Regions from separate parts of the Homo sapiens genome. Here region 2 is linked to region 1. Evidence: promoter capture Hi-C in 16 types of primary human blood cells and fetal thymus (Javierre and others, 2016). All regions are on one chromosome and are shown on one strand. Each heading gives the region's core, a stretch centred on a gene start or on the middle of the fragment in contact. The rest is flanking DNA. Distances are from core to core; before and after follow the strand shown. Region 1 holds the start of TRR-CCG1-3 (tRNA-Arg (anticodon CCG) 1-3). Region 2 holds the start of SLX4 (SLX4 structure-specific endonuclease subunit).

Evidence for each region. Contacts are between HindIII fragments. The CHiCAGO score rates a contact against its expected background, and 5 or more counts as called.
Region 2: a contact is called between the fragment with the promoter of SLX4 here and a fragment that was not itself captured in region 1, in 1 of 17 cell types (megakaryocytes). The highest score is 5.9, in megakaryocytes.

The regions. Positions count from the first base shown.
Region 1 is chr16:3,149,203-3,155,186 of GRCh38, reverse strand. TRR-CCG1-3 (tRNA-Arg (anticodon CCG) 1-3) reads right to left here and starts at 4,513; the gene lies at 4,441-4,513. TRR-CCT3-1 (tRNA-Arg (anticodon CCT) 3-1) reads right to left here and starts at 2,287; the gene lies at 2,215-2,287. It also overlaps the pseudogene CASP16P and the pseudogene TRP-AGG6-1. RefSeq lists silencers at 2,120-2,259, 4,441-4,790 and an enhancer at 5,391-5,440. The HindIII fragment of the contact is 2,144 bases long and covers 2,407-4,550 here.
Region 2 is chr16:3,608,248-3,614,231 of GRCh38, reverse strand. It overlaps SLX4 (SLX4 structure-specific endonuclease subunit), which reads left to right and starts at 2,626. Exons shown (of 15, transcript NM_032444.4): 1 at 2,626-2,672; 2 at 4,666-5,802. The coding sequence starts at 5,268. It also overlaps a transcript of DNASE1 not described here. RefSeq lists an enhancer at 2,309-2,378 and a silencer at 2,419-2,768. The HindIII fragment of the contact is 2,900 bases long and covers 2,239-5,138 here.

The sequences.
Region 1 (5,984 bases), core at 2,229-4,728:
TTTGTATCTGGTGAATTTATCCATCTGGGTGCATATCCCAAAGAGCCTATAGTTAATATGTTATCTCATGCAGCTGACCATGGCCCTACCAGGTTTCTTGGTTGGTTGGCTGAAAATTGAACTCAGTGGTGGCCTATGTTTAATGAGACCGGGCTGCCAGAACGTCTCAGGCAAACTGTAGAGAAAGAAACCTAAAGACACCAAGCAATGTTGGAGTGCATCTTTCACGCATGATGTGCATACCACTGAGAAGACCAGAGGACACTCCCTTTCTTTCTTTCTTTCTTTTTCTCTTTTCTCTTTTTTTTGAGACGGAGTCTTACTCTGTCGCCCAGGCTGGAGTGCAGTGGCACGACCTCAGCTCACTGCAACCTCTGCCTCCCGGGTTCAAGCGATTCTTCTGCCTCAGCCTCCCAAGTAGCTGGGACTACAGGCGAGCGCCACCACACCCGGCTAATTTTTGTATTTTTAGTAGAGATGGGGTGTCACCATATTGGCCTGGCTGCTCTAGAACTCCTGACCTCGTGATCCGCCTGCCTCGGCCTCCCAAAGTGCTGGGATTACAGGTGTGAGCTACCGCACCAGGCCAGGACACTCCCTTTCACAAGGCCTCCCGAAAAAATCCATCACTGAAGCATCAGCTTCCTTAAGTAGCTCTCTGGTGGCCATTCTCTACAGGTGGCCTATGATGGTGGAAGGTAATGCCATTGAGGTGTGGAAGGTAACGCCACTGAGGTGTGGAAGGTAACCCCATTGAGGTGTGGAAGGTAACCCCATTGAGGTGAGGAAGGTAATGCCATTGAGGTGAGGAAGGTAATGCCATTGAGATGTGGAAGGTAACCCCATTGAGGTGAGGAAGGTAACCCCATTGAGGTGTGGAAGGTAATGCCATTGAGGTGAGGAAGGTAACCCCATTGAGGTGTGGAAGGTAATGCCATTGAGGTGAGGAAGGTAACCCCATTGAGGTGAGGAAGGTAATGCCATTGAGGTGAGGAAGGTAACCCCATTGAGGTGTGGAAGGTAACGCCATTGAGGTGAGGAAGGTAACCCCATTGAGGTGAGGAAGGTAACGCCATTGAGGTGAGGAAGGTAATGCCATTGAGGTGAGGTCCCTGATTTCAGTGGAGATGATGGGGTCCAGGATGTTTGGGGAACTGGGAGAAGCCAGGCCAGAGCTGGAAAAACAGAAGAGTCCCAATTATGAGTTTTATTTATTTATTTATTTATTTTGAGACGGAGTCTCTGTCACCCAGGCTGGAGTGCAGTGGCGCGATCTCCGCTCACTGCAACCTCCACCTCCCGGGTTCAAGTGATTCTCCTGCCTCAGTCTCCTGAGGAGCTGGGATTACAGGCGCGTGCCCCCACGCCCGGCTAATTTTTCTATTTTTAGTAGAGACGGGGTTTCACCGTGTTGGTCAGGCTGGTGCGTGATCGTGATCCGCCCGCCTCGGCCTCCCAAAGTGCTGGGATTACAGGCGGGAGCCACTGCGCCCGGGCCAATTATTGGTTTTAAAGGCAAAAGCCAACCATGTTTTTATACATATTTATGACAAAACTCCAGCAGTGGTCCCCATCAGAGCGGCTTCTGATTTTACTTTACACCATGTCCTGTAGTTCGGGAAATTTTTACCTTGAAGATGGCATCATATATTGCATGGATTTAAAAAAAGAATACTATGGACTATTTCAAATATGTATTAAAAGAGAGAAAATAGTGCAATGTCCCCTCATGTCCCCCATTATCTACTCATGGATAAGTAGTTTCATCTATACCGCCATCCATCTTATGATTTCTTTTTTTTTTTTTTTGAAACGGAGATTACAGGCTGGGATTACAAGTTTAAGCCAGCGCACCTGGCCTCAGTTTTATGATTTTTAAAACAAACCAGTTGTCTTGTAATTTAATCTGTAAATAATTGTGTTTATAAAAAAAAGGATTTAAAAAATATTTGTAACCATAATAGAATTAACAAACCTGGAAAAATAAACAATCATTCCTTTCTATCAAGTTAAATGGATGGTACTTAACATCCTGTAAAAGATTCGGCTCCTTTTTTCTGTAACGTGAAATTGTGCTCGTCTTCCTTGAAAACAGGTAGAGGTTTCTGATTTAGAGCCTTTTTGGTAACCCTTCGGAAACTCCGCACCTCCACTGGAGTATACCGCATTCTAACTCTTCTGCCCGATAAGGAACACTAAAATTCGGCCTTTCTTTACCCCGGGTGGGACTCGAACCCACAATCCCTGGCTTAGGAGGCCAATGCCTTATCCATTAGGCCACCGGGGCGGATAACAAAACGCTGTCGCTTGTCTTAGACCAGTTTCTCCATCACTCCGCGGTGGTTCCTGCACAGCCTGCCCGTCCTACCCTGGCCTTTCTCCCGCCCCTCCACTGCAATCCAAGCTTCGGTTCAGATCTCGTCCGCTCCTGAGCATCCTCGGGACCCCAAAGAGACGGCGCACGTGCAGAGGGACCTGAAAGACACCGAACGTCAGATTTTTGGCTCCGCTCTTTGGTCTAGGGGTATGATCTTCGCTTAGGGTGCGAGAGGTGCCTGGATCAACTCCTTCACAAGCCGTCGTCTCCACTCAGGAGACAACCCAAGTCTAGGGGTAATTAGTAGCGAATGATGCACTTGCGATGGGTAGAGTGTATGGGAAGGGGCACGCGATGCCAGCTCAGCAACTGGCTCCTCATCCCGAGCCCGCCGCTTCTGGAAGTGTCGGTCTTCGTCCTCCTCCCCCGCATTGTCCGTTAGACCAAGGGTGCCGCCCAGTGGTCGGAAGCCTCTTAATAATGACCCTCCAAAATCCGCCCTCTACATCCCCAGCTGGCTAGGTGTTAATCTCAGGATCGCCACGTTGGGTGTTTACTTTCCTGCCCCAACACGTGTGTTATTTTCCTTTTTTAAAAAATCTGTATTTTAATGACGTTCTTTTCCTTTAATACCTAGTAAACGCTTCAGTCCAGGAGTTCGAGACCATCATGGGCAAAATAGTGAGCGCCCCGTCTCTACCAAAAACAAATACCTTCGTAAACCACTGAAACATCAAAAAAAATTAAAGGAGAAAGTGACACCCTGCACGACGCCAGGTCACCAGCGTCCGCCGACCGGAGGCCATGCCTGCAGCTGCGACTCTCCGCAGCCTTCACCCCGTGGAAGGATACCCCACCCCGTGGAAGGATACCCCAAGAGGCGCTGCTCGGCACCCGGACTAAACTCGGGTTCCGCTGGTAGACATTTTTTTTCCCCTCGGCGAAATATTAACTCAATCCTGGAGATACTCTTTGAATTTTATTTTATTTTATTTTATTTTATTTTATTTTATTTTATTTTATTTTATTTTATTTATTTTCTATTTTGAGACGGAGTCTCGCTCTGTCGCCCAGGCTGGAGTGCAGTGGCGCGATCTTGGCTCACTGCAGCCTCCGGCCTCCCGGGTTCAAGCGATTCTCCTGCCTCAGCCTCCTGAGTAGCTGGGAGTACAGGCGCGCGCCACCACGTCCCGCTAATTTTTGTATTTTTAGTAGAAACGGGGTTTTACCATGTGAGTCAGGCTGGTCTGGAACTCCCGACCTCATGATTCGCCCGCCTCGACCTCCCAAAGTGCTGGGATTAGAGGCGTGAGCCACCGCGCCCGGCTCATCACCACTATAATCGTTTTCTTTTTTACTTTGTTACCCCATGATCAGTTGATACAAAGTTTTTCATCACAATAATCAATTAAACTACACATGTCGCCGGGCGCGGTGGCTCACGCCTGTAAGCCCAGCACTTTGGGAGACCGAGGCTGGACGATCACCTGAGGTCGGGAGTTCGAGACCAGCCTGGCCAACATGGAGAACCCACCCCCGCCCACCCCCCCACCCTACTAAAAATACAAAAATTAGCCGGGCCTGGTGGCGCATGCCTGTAATCCCAGCTACTCGGAAGGCTGAGGCAGGAGAATCGTTTGAACCCGGGAGGCGGAGGTTGCAGTGAGCGGAGATCAAGACATTGCACTCCAGCCTAGGCAACAAGAGCGAAACTCCGTCTCAAAAAAAAAACAAAAACAAAAACAAAAAACTACAGGTGTCCTTTGATCCCTTGGGGCAACTCCTCACAGCAAGCAATCCCAGCCCCGCGTCTGTCACGGTTTCCATCACCTGAACGTTAATTTGTGAAGTCAATCCCCTACCAGATCCCAGGACCTGCGTTCTCTGGCTTCAAGCTCCGCAGTCCGCCAGGGCCCTGCCGGCGTTCTCTAAGTCGCCCTCGCTGCTATTCTGGCCCTGGGTCCTTAGCTTCGCGACTGGAGGCGCAGGGCGAGGTCCCAGTGTTCCTACGGGGGTGAGGGGAGAGCGACCGGCGCACTCAGTTCGAGTGTCGTAGTCGCCCAGGGTGCAGTCCCAGGTGAAGAAATTTTAAGTGGAGCTGGAAGAAAACGTTAACATGGCAACGACCACGAAGGGACTCGAACCCTCAATCTTCTGATCCGGAATCAGACGCCTTATCCATTAGGCCACGCGGCCCTGCGGCTGTATGGCTCCCAGCTATTCTCATAAAGCTTTCTATAGCCTATGCTGTCGCTTTAACGCGCATGCTTAGAGTGAGGGGAGGCCGGTCCTTCCGAGGCTCCCGGTGGGCGGGACTCCGAGCTGGGCCACCGCGCCGGGCCGCTGAGGCTGCTGGGTGGAAACCGCCGCCGCGGGCCCGGGACTGTGAGTTCGAGCCCTGGCGAGCCCGCCCTACCCCACCCTCCCCGCAGCAGGCCCCTCCGAGACGCCGTTTGGGAGCGCTTTCCCCCATGTGCCTCCCGCCGCTTTGGGTCAGGGGCTGCAAGCTGCTTGCCCAGCCCCTGTGCTTGCTCCATCACGGTGAACCTGCAAAGGTGTGTTTCAGAGGCTTTTGGCCCCAGACTTTATTCTGGCCGCCTGGAAAGCGGAGGCCGTGTCTCCTGAGTTTCTATGGCCCAGCGCGGGGTGGAGGTGGGGCGCGCATACACAGGGACATGTCTGGGAGAGGGATATGCGTCCTCTTCCTGGGACCCCTCTCCCCCTGGACGCTCCCATAACCGAACTGCCAACCCAGCCCAGCCCAGTCCAGCCCATGTTGGGTTCCTAAGTCCCGGAAGCTGGGCACAGGCCCCAACTCGGTTCCCATGGACACTATTGCGTCCATATGCAGTGCCAGGCGCTTTACACACATTATCTCACTTATTTCACACGTCCTTGAGAACAGGCACTGTTCACGGCAGATATTTATTGCACGGCCACCCCCACGCTGCCACGCCTCGCTCTCAGATGAGGAAACCGGGGGGATGGGGGGTGGATGGAGGCAAGAATGGCGCTGGGATCTGGCCACCGTCTCAGCAGCGCCCCCGTGGCCGCCGCACCCTCAGGCCTGGAGGCAGAGCCGGCGCCGGAGCGAGCTGCGGATCTCCAGGCAGGCCTTGCGGAGTTCATCGCAGTCGGGGCCCAGCACCTCCTGCTCGCACACCCGCCTGTTGACCTGAGGACCACACCCAGCCTGCGCCCGGGGTTACAGCCCTCCGGGGCTCAGCCTGCCCCAGGGGAGAGCCCCTGGCTTGGTACATTGCAAGGCCTAAAATTTCAAGGACTGCCTGGACATCTTTGAGGCTCGCAGAGCTCCAGAGGCCTAACGGTGAATTCCTCTGCTCTGGCCAGACATGTCCCCACCCAGCAGGACAGGCTCCCACCCCCTAGGTCCCCTCTCAGCAGACCAGCTGCACCCCACCTGGTCGTCACCCTAATGGACTTCAGCCCCCTGACAGGCCTTGGAAATATTCAAACCAACCAACCACATCTGCCCGTGGGAACCAGGGGGCATCTCACTCTCTTGTCACTACAAAGCCAGCTTCCCACTGGCCCTGCAGGTTCACCCTGCTCTGAGCACAAGCCCAGGTGGCCCCGCATGACATGCAGTGTCCTCCTCCCCACCCGACTGCAGTACGTGTGACTAAGAACTGCAGTGGATGGCATC
Region 2 (5,984 bases), core at 1,377-3,876, 460 kb before region 1:
ACTAGAAATACAAAAAATTACGCCGGGCGCGGTGGCTCACACCTGTAATCCCAGCACTCTGGGAGGCCAAGGCGGGCAGATCACGAGGTCAGGAAATCGAGACCATCCTGGCTAATATGGTGAAACCCCGTCTCTACTAAAAATACAAAAAATTAGCCAGGTGTGGTGGCGGGCGCCTGTAGTCCCAGGTATTCGGGAGACTGCGGCAGGAGAATGGCGTGAACCCGGGAAGCAGAGCTTGCAGTGAGCCGAGATCACACCACTGCATTCCAGCCTGGGCAACAGAGCGAGATTTTGTCCAAAAAAAAAAAAAAAAAAAAAAATTAGCCAGGCGCGGTTGCGGGCGCCTGTAATCCCAGCTACTCCGGAGGCTGAGGCAGGAGAATCGCTTGAACCAGGGAAGTGGAGGTTGCACACACCACTGCGCTCCAGCCTGGGCAACAAGAGCCAAACTCCGTCGAAAACGAAGCAAGGAAGGGAAGGAAGGAAAGAGAAATTATTTCAACAGCACTGGCCTCTCCATGTCGTCACTCAGTCTCCTCTATAAATTCAAGTCCCAAGACACCCTGCCCTACCCTTGCCTCTGGGCTGCTTATCATTCTTGTTCTGTCTTCTTTATCCAGTTGGAAACCATATTACAAACTAACTTAGATTTCCAAGCCAGAGAGCAAGTAAACACCTCCTAAATCCTTCATCAAGGAAAACCTCTTGGAAGGTTTTGAAGCTCAACATTCAGAATCAAATGTAGTCTTACCCAGTAATTCCACTCCTAGAACACAAAAACTTGTGTTATGAACACGAATGTTCATAGCAGCATTATTTCTAACAGCCAAAAAGTAAAAACATCCATATGCCCATCACCTGATACATGGATAAACAAAACATGGTCCATCCAAACACGTGATTATGCAGCCATGAAAAGGCATGCAGTACTGATTCATCTACATGGATGAAATCTTGAAAACATGCTTAATAAAAGCCCAGCAGAAAAAGCCAAGTATCACATGATCCCATTTACATAAAATGTACTGAATACGCAAAACCACAGAGACAGAAAGCCGATAAGTGATTGCCAGGGGATGGGGTCGGGGGAATTGCGGAGTGACTACGAATGGGTACGGCAGGTTCGATTTGGGGTTTTAAAACGTTCTGGAATTAGCGACGATGGCTGCAAATCCTGTGAACGTACTGGAAACCACTGAATGTACACTTCTAGTGTGCATTTTATGATACTGTATCTTTTAAAAAACATATTGTCTGCCCTGCAAACTGATTCCTTTACACCTCTCCTGTGTTCATTATTTCAGTGACTGGAGGCACACTACTCTCAGATGTTAAGGCCAGAAACCGGCAAATCGTTAACAACTGCGTCTTGACTATGCTCCATATTTCTCCATTCTTTTCGCTCCACCTCCTAATTCGGGCCGCTCTCACTTTTCATCTAGATTATGTAATAGCCTCCTAATGGGTGTCCTTGCCTCATCTGTTCTCACTGTAATTAGGCCTTTAAAAACAAAATCTTACGCCGGGCGTGGTGGCTCACGCCTGTAATCTCAGCGCTTTGGGAGGCCGAGGCGGGAGGATCTCTTGCGGCCAGGGCTCGAGACCAGCCTGGGCAACATAGTGAGACTCCCCCCCCCGCCCCCACCGCCCGTCTCTACTTAAAAAAAAAAAAAAAAAAAGCCGTGAGCGGTGGCTCACGCCTGTAATCCCACCACTTTGGGAGGCCGAGGCGGGCGGATCACCTGAGGTCAGGAGTTGGAGACCAGCCTGGGCAACAGAGTGAAACCTAGTCTCTACTAAAAACACAAAAATTAGCTGGGCGTGGTGACTGGCGCCTGTAATCCCAGCTACTTGGGAAGGTGAGGCACAAGAACCGCTCGAACCCGGGAGACAGAGGTTGCAGTGAGCCGAGATCGCGCCACTGCACCCCAGCCTGGGCAACAAGAGCAAAACCCCGTCTCAAAAAACAAACAACAAAAAACCTTCAATGGCTCCCGACGACCCCAAGTTGAAGCTCAAACCCTTAATACGATGTGTAAAGTCCCTCAAATACCAAGCCATGGCAAACCTCTGCTACCTTTCCCCCAGGCCCTGGCTGGCTTCACCCTAGCCCTGCGGAAGAGCTCGGGCATCCCCTCCAGGCACCTGAAGCGCGGCAGAATCCCCTCTTCACGTAGCTAACCCTCCCCGACCTCCAGGCCTCGACTCTCACGCCACCCCACCTGAGAGGAAGCTTCTCGGGCCCCCAGGCCAGATTTGGTGCCTCTCCCGGTCCCCCTCACACCGTCCACTCTCCGCTCCACAGGCAGGTATGCCCAGAGGGGGCCGCCGTTGTATCCGCGAACATTTCCTGAGCCAGCTGGGGAGGAACCAGACTTTATCTCACAGCTGCCACAGTGCCTTAAACTCGCCCTAACTCTTTCTCAAAAACTAACAGACTCCACCTGAAGCAAGCGCCGCTTCCGCCTCGCCCCGCCTCCTGCCGACCGGAAGCGCTGGCCGCCGCGGGCCCGCGCCCGGCGCCGCAGAGGAAGACCGGAAGCGAGGCTGCCGCACCACCGCGCGCGCCCGCTCTGCGCCTGCGCGCAGGCAATGCTCCGCGGGGGCGCGGGCGGCGCATGCGCAGGCGCGCGAGTCTCCGTTAAGAAGGTGCCGCGGCGGCGCCGGAGGTAGGAGGAGCCGGGCTGTGGGGCTGGGAGTCGGCACCCGGGAGGCGGAGGTCCTGTCATTTCGGGCCGTTCTCTCTTTCCTAAGGGAGAAGAGCCTTTCTCGCCCGTCTCCCTCGCTGGCTCCGTGGCCTCGGCAGGCCCGCAGCCCCGACGGAGAGGCAGGAGCCGCACTCGGGTGGAGAGGGGCCGGGGCCCGCCTGGAGGGAGGAGGGTGGCGGATCCGGATCCCCACGGTGGTCTCCGTCCGGGCCAGTCCGGGGATCGGGGTTCTCCGTCTGACTTTAGAGCCGTTAGAGTCTTTGGCAGCCCTTTTCCCAGACGGGGAACCCCTCAGCCCCTTTCCGTAGGTCGCCGGGTTGGGGGAAGCGGGAGGGTCCGCCCCTTACCGATCCATTCATTCATCCCTCGCCTGCTGTGAGCCGTGGGCTGCGGTAGGTACGAAGCAAGGAGGCACAAGTCCCCTTCCCTCTGGAAACCTGCAGGCTTGCAGGATCCGTTATGTCATTCAGTAAATCTTGACTGGGCACCTATAGGAGGAGATAGACTGTTGTGAGGTTCATATCAACAGAGATGCGGAGATCAACACAGTTGTGGAGGTGGAATTTGTTCCAGCCGCTCCCCGCATCCAACAGGATAAAATTCACTTTGCCTAGCCTGACCTTCCAGGCCCTTGTGAGCCAATCCTTTCCTCTCCCCGCAGCGTTTTCTCCTACACCTTTCTCTCTACTCCCATTATACCGAACTCTTTGCAATTCATGAATTCAACAAGTAGTTGTGGAGCACTTATTTCAAGTCAGGCACCAGATCAGCCAAAGAGGTTGCAAAGTAATAGATGGATCTCTACCCTCCTGAAGTGTTGAGCTTAATGGGGGACAGATAATAAGCCGATGAATAAAAACACAAGAGCGGATAGTTTCGAACCACACTTCCTGGGTTTGATCCCAGCCCTGCCACTGTGAAAGCTGTTCCTGAACTGGCTTTAGGCCAGTTCCTCATTCTGCTTGCGCGTGTTTCCTTGCCGTAAAGACAGGATGACAAGAGATTCCACCATATAGGCTTCTTGTAAGGATTAAACGAGTTTGACTTGGAAAGCAATTGGAACAGTGCTTGGCACACAGTAAGCATTCGATAGATATTACCTGTTTCATATGATGATAACCTATGACAGATGCCATTGTGAAAACAGTGGGCGATGATAGGGATTAACGGGGATGGAGACGGTCCATAAAGGATTAGAGGACACTTCTCTAAGGGGAAGACACAGAAGAGAATGCGCCAGCCATACAAAGTAGATTCTAGGTAGGAGTATTTTCAGCTCTGGAAAACAAAATGATTAATTAGATTCCTTGGACAGTGGAGATTGCATTATTGTATTTGAAAGGAATAACTTTCTGCCATTGGGTCATTCAGTTTTGATTTTTGAACCCCACTTAGCTGTGTGCCAAAGTAAACAACCATGCTCACGAGGCCCAGCCTTTGCACACAGGCGACATTCCAGTCATCCAGGTTTGGAGAGCCTTGCTGGGTTGAGAAGATAAGTAAAAGTGACCTTTTCTCTCCTGAGTGTTCATGAGAATATAATGTCTCTTTCTGTCTCTTATGTTGCAGTATTTACAGAAAGAGCCTCTTTAACAGCCAGGGGTCTTAGATCAGTGTAGGAGATAGTTTTCCTAGATTTGGGGATCATCCTGTTTCTGTGGTGACTGCCTTTTATGGGGTTTGCTCCCTAAATTTCAGTTAAGAAAACACTCTCCCAAGATGCACATATTTTAATACCTGTGGAAGAACAACATGCTTTGACAGGTTTCTAGGTCCTTTTGTTGTGATGTCTGATAGGACGGTTAGACCATGTTAACCAGGCTGGACTGAGTATTTGACAGTATTGTTACTCCGAAGACTTTTCCCTCACCCCACATGCCCTTGTCCCTCCCTGGAAGAACTGGCATAAAATGACAATGTCTGATTACACTTACATGCTTTTGGTTTTCCACAGATGTGTAATTAAGTGAACCATATATGTTTCATCATCATGGAGATCTTGGAGAATTATCTGAGCACCAGGTTCATATGTATTCGATCTCAGAGGCATCTATTGGACAACAAAACACTCTTTCAGTTGTGAACTTTATTTATTTATTATTATTATTTTTTGAGACAGAGTTTTGCTCTTGTTGCCCAGGTTAGAGTGCAGTGGCACGATCTCGGCTCACTGCAATCTCCGCCTCCCAGGTTCAAGCGATTCTCTTGCCTCTGCCTCCCGAGTAGCTGGGATTACAGGCATCTGCTACCACGCCTGGCCAATTTTTTGTATTTTCAGTTGAAACGAGGTTTCACCATATTGGCCAGGCTGGTCTCGAACTTCTGACCTCAGGTGATCCACCCCCCGCCTCGTCCTCCAAAAGAGCTGGGATTACAAGTGTGAGCCACCGCGCCCGGCCCAGTTGTGGACTTTAACAGAGGGAAGCTTTAAACATGTTTAACCACAGGCCCAATTTGAACAAAGATACTTCAATCATTATAGAGAGGAAAACAGTACTTTTTGTTCAATTGTGCAAACTCTCCAAGTATCTAATGGAGAAGTAGAGAAGAACCCTAATGAAACTGAGTGTGAATGAGGCTCAGCTAGGCTTCTACTTGGGTTCACTTTCTCATCTGTCTGCCTGTCCTGGGATTGACCCTCGCTCCTCTGAAGACCAGCCTGAAAGCCTTAAAACTGGTCAGATGATGGATGAGTCTGATGAGGACTTTAAAGAACTCTGCGCTAGCTTTTTCCAAAGGGTGAAAAAACATGGAATCAAGGAAGTGTCAGGAGAAAGGAAGACACAAAAGGCTGCCTCAAACGGCACTCAGATAAGAAGCAAATTGAAAAGGACCAAACAAACTGCTACCAAGACCAAAACCCTTCAAGGCCCTGCAGAGAAGAAACCTCCGTCTGGCAGCCAGGCCCCTAGGACTAAAAAGCAAAGGGTAACCAAATGGCAAGCAAGTGAACCGGCCCACTCTGTGAATGGGGAGGGGGGTGTGCTTGCCTCTGCTCCAGATCCACCTGTGCTCCGGGAAACAGCACAAAACACCCAGACGGGTAACCAGCAAGAACCATCGCCAAACCTTTCCAGAGAGAAAACCAGAGGTAATTTGTACTCTTTTAAACCAGGGGCTGGAAAACTTCCTGGAAAGGGCCAGATCGTAAATATTTTGGCTTTGTAGGCCACACAGACTCTGTCACAACTACTCAACTCTGCTGTCATAGTGAGAAAGCAGGCGTGGACAATATGTAAATGAACAGGCATGGCCATATGCCAGTAAAACTTT